Linked DNA regions of Homo sapiens: region 1 is linked to region 2. Evidence: promoter capture Hi-C in human tissues and cell types (Jung and others, 2019). All regions are on one chromosome and are shown on one strand. The core of a region is centred on a gene start or on the middle of the fragment in contact, and the rest is flanking DNA. Distances in the headings are between cores, read along the strand shown.

Region 1 (4,734 bases), core at 1,896-4,395, 64 kb after region 2:
TGGCCATGACGATGAAGAAGGAATGTAGTTATCTGGAGAGGAAAGCACAGAGGTTGTCTGAAGACTGGTGGAGGAAATATGGAGGGGTTGTCAGAAGGCTGGGAGAGATGTAAGCATGTTTTAAAAAGCTGATGAGAAGGATATAACTGAAAGGAGTAAGTTAAAGATGCAAGAAAAGAGAGAGTCGATAGTCTCTCTTTTCCTGAAAAGAGGAAGGGAATGAGATCCACAGCATAACCTGAGAGACTCATCTTATAGGGAGGACAAAACACTATCAATTGTGCCTTGAGCGAAAGAGAGCAGGCAAACAGGTTTACAGCATGCTCGCATCTGAAGCTCCCAATTTCTTTATGAAGTTGTGTGGAGTGGGTATAGGATTATTGGTTTAATGGAGGAAATAATGATTTGCTTACAGAAATTGGGAACTGACCAATAGTGCTGAAGGCCCAGTGGAATTTGGTAATCATAAAATTTAGAGTGGTACTATTCTTTCCTGTTTTACACCTACAGAAAATTTCAGGGCTCACATAAGAGATGATATATTCATAGTAAGGCACTTATAATTTCAGAGAACAGTTTTAACAACAGCCTGCCTAAAATAAATGATTACATGATTCTTGTATTTTATCAGTTAACTGAGCCTAGTAATTTTTCCCCATTTGAAAAGGTACACATTTTAATCATCAAGATGTCATTTAAATGCTATCAAATCCAAGATTTTTAGTACAAGTCAACTATATCATATGACCACAACTATAAAATGCATTGATATAAAAGTGTTTTCTTAATACATAAAAATATAGCTGTATGTAGCTATATTTTTGTGTACAAATGTGGAATCCTCATTAATCTGATTAGATGACCCTAACTGGGTTAGACTCTTACACTAACACTGTGAAGAAAGACTCTGCTAAATACATAAGGGCATTTTTGTTTGCTTAATGGGCTAAACTTTAAGATTTTAGCAAGTCAGTTGTCATATATGATTGCAAGCTAAAGTCCCAATTATTCATGGAAGGTTGGCTTTTTAGGATCTGCTTAGAAATGCTTCATTGGCAACTTAAGTTATTAGATATACTTAAAATATTAACATTACATTTAAAATATTCTTTAAATTCCACCAATTTAGCATGGATTTCCTAAGTTATCCAGCATTTACTGTAAGTTTATACCTAAAGTAATCTTGAATGACCACCAACAAATGCCTTTACAATCTACAAGGCATAAATATGCACAAATAATATGATTTAAACATCAAAAATAATATTCATGTTTCCATGAGTAAACAAACTCAAGTACTTATGATTTTTTACAATACTGGAATATAATCTTAGGCATTAATGTATCAGTGGTCCCTAAACAATTCCCAGTATTACAGAAATGGCAGTAGTTATTTAAAAATTCACTGAATTCAAATTTTCATTACTAAATAGGAAATTTTTAAAAGGGCCCAACCTATAAGCCTACTTATTATAAGCCAAAATGATTTTAAAAGCTAACACTGGTCACATTCCCCTTAATACTCAAGTTTTCTAAACAACCATCCATTTATTTTACCCTTAGAAAACTCTCCTATATTTATCCAAAGTAAATATAAATCAGGAATAAATGAATAATTGATATGATTACTTATGTTTACATGGACTTTTTGATCAATTTCAAAGGTGAAAAATCCAGTAATATCTTTTCTAATACAAAATTTTCTTAACAAAAACATTTAAGTAATACCCATAAAAATATCCCCCAGGGATTTTTTCAATATAATTATTGAGTTCAAGTTTAAAGTAATCAATATAGATAAAACCTACTTTCTGTCAGATCCTCAATCTTTTCCCACACAGTAACAGCATGAGATCTATATCTTGTACTCAAATCCTGAACTACCAATACTTAGGAATTCAAATTAATATTAAGTGGAAAAGGTGCTCTTTCATGTAAAGTCACAGAATCTCAAATCTCCTTATTAAGGCTAGTTAAGATACCCAAAGCATCAAATATAAAAACAATGTTCACTGCCCATTAACACTGCAGAAGTATCTAACACTTGTATGATTCTACTGCATAAAATTTGCTTGCTATACTAAAAACAACAAATAACAGACTAGAGTATTGTTATAGTGGTTTAGAGAACCTTACAAAAGATCTTTTTGATTATTGTAATGCAACATTGAATCTTCACGAAAAGCATAGCATCGTTACATTTTGGGAAGACTCTGATCTGTAATGTAATAAAACAGCGTAGCCTCACCTACATGGTGATAAAGGCCCATAATGACTAAGCCAGGTAGGCCATGGCTTATCAGATTTTTATTCATTTTACATCATAGTCATTCCCCTCCTCTTTGTTGTATATAAAGTGCTTTTCAGTTTATCAGTATATTACACTTTTAAAAAATAACTGTTCAAGAGAAGTTACAATGATTCAGCAACTAAATCTTAAACCCAAGAGCAAGAAATGCAGCTGATTTTTTTCTAAAGCAACAAAATTTCACTCAAGAAAATCTTCCTGTATGGCCAGAGAAAAAGAATTAGTTTAATAATTCAATAAAACATATGCTATGAAATTGACCATCCGAAAAATAAATAATCATATGAATCAGTGCCTAAATTCTGTAATTTTGCTGTTATTTTCCAGTAGATGAAAAGCATCCTGATTCACTTAATTTTAACAGGCTCATAATTTAGGTGACACATTTTAAGATACTATCCTTGTAAGCTTCCTTATCTTTAAAAATTTATTTACTATTACCTGCAAACAATAGGTAACAGAGCTTTGCCTCTGCTCTTCATTCTTTTATACTAACGTATACTCACAGCTTGAATAAAACATTACAATATTTATGAAATTAATCATTGTAATAAGAGCACTACTTACAATTTACTATTTTATAATCTCCCTCTGCCACTTCCTACAAAGCTCTTTTTACCCTCTTTGTTTAAAATTTCAGGGTTTTTTGGGGGGGGGGGGGTAGGGAAAATGCATTCTGGAACGGACAGCAATTAAAAGTATTAGCAAAAATAAAGGGACTAATCTTTCTTCAATATTGGACAATATAAGATCCTAAGGTTAATTTAAAAAACAAAAGCTAAATCACAGATTTGCAACAGTTCACACCCTGAAAATGTGGCCTAATTAGCCTGAAAACATATAATCTATAAATAAATACAGATAAAATACAAAAATCACATTTAATATTCTGACTTTAAATCCTGAATTTTGCCAAACTGTCTCATTATCATTTTCATTTCAGAATCTATCTTGTTTCAGAAAAATAGCCTTCATCCATTGATATTCTAAAAATAGACTCCTACTGTCTTTTTTACAAGAAAGAATATCGCTTGGTTCTGAGTCCTTCCCTATCAGCTACATCATCAATACCTAAAATTCTTATTTAATCCCGTTTTTGGCAATCAAAATGGTAACTAAACACACAAAAAAATCTTACCTATATGCTGCATTTTCTTTCAAATGCAAAGTGGTTAGATTCCCCTTCTACTTAATCAGTACAGGGTCTGGACATTTTTCAGTCTGACTTGCAAATATTTGCTTTCCCTCTTAGGGCATAGCATCCGCAGGGTTATACAGCACTACTTACATTCTCTTCCACATAAAAATCAGACATTACATGAAAGGAAAAGAAAGACAGCCCATTTCAAAGCATCTGGCAAACCTCCATTGGCAAACTGCCAAGCCTCTGCTAAACCTTCCTGTCTTTCCGAGCATGCTCACTTAAAACCAACAGCACGTTACTATGGCAACTCTGTAGGCAGCCTGTAAGTATGAACCGCCATTCTGATTTCAGAGTGTAAAAAAACCAAATACTGCAGGGGAAGTAAAAGGAAAGAAATAGCGTATGCCCTTCATTACATATGACTATACTCGTTTCATTTCATAAATTCATATTTGTGTATTTAAAACAGAAACAAGAATCCCACATTTTTCCAGGCCAATATTTTTCATGCTCAAATAGGTCCCCCTTTTCAGTAAATTCATTGTCTTTGTCTTGCCCCTAAACCCTTTTACCCCGTAACAACCAAAAATGTACTAGACAGTTTATCCCATTTGATACAACACTGCAGAATAAACAACAGTATTCATATAAGCAATCATGAAGTACTCCATGGATGATTTCCTACAATTATATGCATATTATAAATGACATGGCAATATTATAAAGAAAACCATTAGCACTTAGAACATATAATCTAAATATTTTCTATGATTTATCAAATTGCCAAATGAAATTTTCTTTGGGGTTTGGATAGGATTTTTTTTAACCTTAATTATCCTTGAAATATTGTGAAATGTCTGAAAGAGGTTTTAAAGTTGAGACAGGCCAGACCTGAGTACAAATCCCTCTTCTACCCATTTTAGTTGTGCCAGCTTGGGAAAGTTACTTAACTTTTCTGAATCTCCCTTTCCTTACCTTTAAAGTAGGATAACAACAGTTACTTCATATGGTAGTAGTTTAAATGAGTTACACATATAAAATACCTAAAAATTACATTTTTTTCCCTCCTGGGTTGTTTTGGAAAAGACCCCAAAAAAACCAGTTTGCACTTGTTGATTAACTAACCTGAAAAGTATTTTCTTGTAATCTCTTACTAAGAATTAGTTCTGATTTACACACTATGCTATGAGCCAAAATGCTTCCTCAACACCCAAATTAAGCAATGCTAGAAACGGACAGAAACAAATAATAGAGAATCTAAACAGAGGGAAAAATATATGAA
Region 2 (4,794 bases), core at 1,314-3,813:
TGTCCTGACTTTTCAGTTTGGCATTCAAAGTCCTCCACGGTAAGACACTAAACTGACCCTCAGCTATCTCTCTGGCCATAATACTCCTTGAACATTACAATTTCATGTTCTGTGCCTCTGCACAAGGTGTTTCCCTCTGCCTACAATGAACAACAATATTCAACAAACATTTGCTGGGCACCTACCGCACTAGACTCTGTTCTAGGCACTGGAAACAATGGAGAGTAAAAAACAAAGTCTGCCCTCACACAGCTTAGTGTAATAAACGGAAAGCATTAATCAAATAATTACACAAATGTGCAAGTGAAACCATGGACAATGACGAGGGACATGGAGCTGTATCAGGCTCTGTCTCAGTCAAGTCAGGGAAGGTATCTCCACTCCCATGTCCAGCTCTTTGGACACTCCCTACCCAGCTAACTATGTCAAATGGGCTTTTATTCTCTACTGTGATTCCATTTTGAAACCCCGGAAGTGTCTTTGACTCCGCCTCTCCATTACCCTTTACTCAGTCGGCATGAACTGTATTCTTCCCAGTTACCACTACCACCACCATAGTTCAGGATTTTTATTACCTCTCAACTAAATTGCTGCAATAGCTTGTTTTCTTTTCCAATCCATTAAGTACACTCCTGCTTGATCAATCTAAGAATATTTCTCTTCTGCCTTTCTTTCCTTCTTTTTAAAAAATTCCTGCTTAGAAATCTTCAGTAATTCCTCCATTGAATCTCAGTTCCTTAACCTGGCCTTCAAAGCAAGCCTTCCCTAATTCAATCCTACTTTCGCTCTCCAACCTTACCACCCACTATTCCTCAGTATGACTCCTTTGCCAAACTGGTTTACTGAATGTGCTTGGCAGATGCCCCACTTTGCATCTTTATGCACATGCTGTTCCCTCCATCCTGTATCCTCTCCCCTGAAACCAAGCCACAAATTCATCATCCTTCCAGGCTCAGTTCAATGCCACTTCCGCTACAAAGTCTTCTCCGGAAAAACTGCATGTTTCAAAAATGGCTACCGCAATATTCCCGGTCACACAAGTGCTTTCAAAACCTTGCCATCCCTGTTGAGAGGTAGAATCTATTTCCTCTCCCTTTAAATTGAGTAGGCTTCAATGTTGCCAGAAGTGGTACCATCTGCTCTTCCACATGGGCACATGTTCTAGTTCACATGCATGTGCGTGCTCTCTCTATACACAGACACACACACACACACATATATATACACACATACATATATGTGTTTGCTTGTCCCTTGGGACACAGCCCATCACACAAATGAAGAATCCCAGATCACACAGACGTGTAGGTGCTCTGGCTAACAATCTCAGCTAAGTAAACATCCAGCATCAACTGCGGATTGCTTGTGGCCAGGAGTTCTAGTTCAGCCTGGGCAACATAGGAACACCCTTGTCTCTTTCTTTTTTTATAGACAGTGTCTTGCTCTGTCGCCCAGGCTGCAACTGCCACCTCCCGGACTCAAGCAATTCTCCTGCCTCAGTCTCCCAAGTAGCTGAGACTACAGGCACACGCCACCACTCCCGGCTAATTTTTGTATTTTTAGTAGAGACAGGCTTTCACCATGTTGGCCAGGCTGGTCTCAAACTCCTGACCTCACGTGATCTGCCCGCCTTGCCTCCCAAAGTGCTGGGATTACAGGCGTGAGCCACCAAGCCCGGCCCGCCTCTTAAAAACAACAAAAAAGGGACTAATCAAATTTTGCCGCAGAGATTTACAAAACACGAAGATGCCTTCTGCTTCTGAGCTACAAGAAAGGCCCTGCGGGAGAACAATCTAGAAGTTACTGCCATGTGACCGTGGCCAGCCTGGGTTTTTAAGTGTCCTGTGCGGCTCTGACAGGGCAAAAGGCTCCTCTTCCTTCTTCCAGTTAAAAGAAGTGCCTGTTGTACAGTGTTTTGCTTTGCAGCTGCCTTTTTATAACTCCAACTTCTTCCTCCTTCCTTCCCTCCCTTTTGTGAGAGGAGAGTGACTGGGCCTGAGGCGGTGCGTGGCGCGCGAGGGCAGGCCTCTTCCCGGGCACGGGCGGCTGAGGGAACTAACTACCTGCTGCCGAGCCCGCCAGGAGCCAAGCAACCCAGCGAGCCCGGACCTGCGTCTACTGAGCTACCTGTGCGGATCGAAAGCACTGCACCTGCGTGCCCTGCTCCTCAGCCTTTTGAGGCTCTGCTCTTCTTTCTGCGAACACAACACGGCACATGCTGGCTGGGAGGCCCGTCCAGAGGCACGCGTGGGCCCAGTGGTCCTGCCTGCCCGGGCGCCGCGGGCCCCTCGGCAGAGGCTGAGGCACTCACGGCCCGGCCTCTCAGTGGGGGGCCCTCCCGGCCGGCAGCCCGCCCGCGCTGCCCGGCCCGGCCGCGCCTCCGCCTCGGTCCCACTCACTGTCCCGCAGGCGGCGCTTGAACGCGGGGTCCCCGCGCCGCTTCCGGTTGAGGTAAATACAATAGCCCAGGAAGGCGAAGGCGCCACAGGCCGCCGCGGCGGCCAAGAGGCGGAGGAGGGAGCGGACGGAGGGCATCCGACCGCGGGCGTCCCACAAGCCGAGCGTTGGGCGCGGGCCGGCCGGCAGGGGGCGTCGGCGCGGCGGCCCATCCGGCCTCGGGGCCTCCTGCGCACCCAGCTGCGCGTTGACGCCTCGCACCCAGGCTTGCGGACCGATGAGGAAGCCGAGCGTTCGAGAGGGTGTGTGCGGGAGCCCTCACAGCCACAGAGTAGCAGAGCTCTGTTCGAACCTACGTCTGTCGCACTCCAAATTCTGAACCCTTTCTCCAAACACGCCTCTGCCCCTGTGTCTACAACACCCATTCAGGCAAAGCACAGTATGCTGCGAATCTGCTTTACTGGGAGCCAGTGGTCGTTTAGGTCTCTGTTCCCTCACCTGCAAAATTAAGTTGACTCTAAGGTCAACTTTGGTCACCTCCTAGTTCACATTGTCTAACAGTAGCCCGTACTCCCCAATCTGGTATCCTTTGTCTCCTGAAAGGACCCAGCAGTCCAAGGTCCAAGGGAGGAATTCAGAAGCAACACTGTTTAATCTAGAAAAATACGTTAAATTGCTGGGCTGAGACTGACAGTCAAAGGTCCCAAAGCAAAAACAACTGAGAGTCCCATGATACTGGCCTAGCTGCTTTTCTAATATTTGCCTTACTCAGCGGACACAGCAGAAAGAAAGAAGGTAAGACTTTGTCCTAAATACCAGAGTTCTGACTTTTCTACTAAGGAGGAGAAAAGGCATAAGCTAGGGACCTAAAGAACTAGATAATTCATTTTTATTTAGGTTATACAATTGCTATTTACTGATTTACAATTTACTGTTATTACTAGTGTGTGCATAGCAAGGTGCTCATCACTGCTCTGAATACCAGTGGGTCTAGCTAGGTGCAGTGGCTCACAACTGAAATCCCAACACTTTGGGAGGCTGAGGTGGGAGGATCACTTGAGCTCAGGACTTGGAGACCAACCAGCCTGGGCAACATTGCAAGAACCCATCTCTAAAAAAACAAAACAAGGGCCGGGCACAATGGCTCATGCCTGTAATCCCAGCACTTTGGGAGGCCGAGGCAGGCAGATCACAAGGTCAAGAGTTCGAGACCAGCCTGGCCAACATGGTGAAACACTGTCTCTACTAAGAATACAAAAATTAGCTGGGTGTGGTGGCATGTGCCTGTAATCCGTTACTTGGGAGGCTGAGACAGGAGAACTGCTTGAATCCGGGAGGCGGAGGTTGCAGTGAGCTGAGATTGTGTCACTGTACTCCAGCATGGGCAACAGAGCAAGACTCCGTCTCGATAAAACAAAACAAAAAAATACTGGTCGTGGTGTGCACCTGTAGCCCTAGCTACTCTGCAGGGATCACTTGAGCCTAGGAGTTGGAGGCTGCAGTGAGCTCTGATCACTGCCACTGCACTCCTGCCTGGGTGACAGAATGAGACCCTGTCTCTATAAAAATACATAGGTGGCTGGGCGTGTTGGCTCACGCCTGTAATTCCAGCACTGGGAGACCGAGGTGGGTGGATCACCTGAGGTCAGGAGTTTGAGACCAGCCTGGCCAACATGGTGAAACCTCATCTCTACTTAAAATACAAAAATTAGCTGGGCATGGTGGCACAAGCCTGTAATCCCAGCTACTTGGGAGGCTGAGTCACGAGAATTGCTTCAACCCAGGAGGCGGGGAGGTTGCAGTGAACTGAGATCAATCACACCACTGCACTCCAGCCTGGGCAACAGAGTGCGACTCTGTCTCAAAAAAAAAAAAAAAAAAATATATATATATATATATATATATATATATATAGAGATAGATAGGTAAATTATAAATTAGTAGATAGATTAAAAAACCAATGGGTCTGAGTAGTAGCCTCAGCCCTCAAAATTTAAGAGTTAGCAGGGGTAAGTTACATATCATGCTTTCTTGAGTACTGTATGTTTTTTCTCATGATAATTGTCTTCTAGAAGGGAACTTGGTTATTGTGAAAACCTGATTGTAAACACAGAGGAGAGGATAGTGTCAGCATCTTGTAAGTATTACTGGTGATCAGGGACTGGTTCAGAATCTTGGCAAGGGTTTAGCCCAGCTTCAATTGATCTTTCTTTAGGTTGACGGCAACTTGTCTTCTAAGACCACCAATCTTGTGGCTTTCTTCCCATCTTTCACCTTCCCTTTCACATAGTTAATGCCTGTGGTAAATGGAGAGGGATGGAGCGAGAGAAACTGTTGAGATTAGCTGGGTATTCAGGAGCAAAGTAAACAGTGACACATAAAAGTAGGAGAATTATT

What was found. The method cuts DNA at HindIII sites, captures the fragments that hold promoters and counts their contacts. A contact is called where the count stands out against the background at its distance.
Region 1: a fragment that was not itself captured here is called in contact with the fragment with the promoter of TOMM20L in region 2 in 2 of the 25 tissues and cell types used here (aorta and bladder).

The regions. Positions count from the first base shown.
Region 1 is chr14:58,330,231-58,334,964 of GRCh38, reverse strand. The region is part of intron 11 of ARID4A (AT-rich interaction domain 4A); the gene reads right to left. Among named protein-coding and RNA genes, the nearest start is that of ARID4A, 34 kb to the right of the region's middle. RefSeq lists an enhancer at 3,525-3,574. The HindIII fragment of the contact is 5,123 bases long and covers 584-4,734 here.
Region 2 is chr14:58,393,699-58,398,492 of GRCh38, reverse strand. TOMM20L (translocase of outer mitochondrial membrane 20 like) reads right to left here and starts at 2,563. Exons shown (of 5, transcript NM_207377.3): 1 at 2,400-2,563; 2 at 2,152-2,195. The coding sequence starts at 2,535. It overlaps TOMM20L-DT (TOMM20L divergent transcript), which reads left to right and starts at 2,788. Exons shown (of 2, transcript NR_187161.1): 1 at 2,788-3,192. RefSeq lists silencers at 2,116-2,165, 2,236-2,755. The HindIII fragment of the contact is 11,412 bases long and covers 1-4,794 here.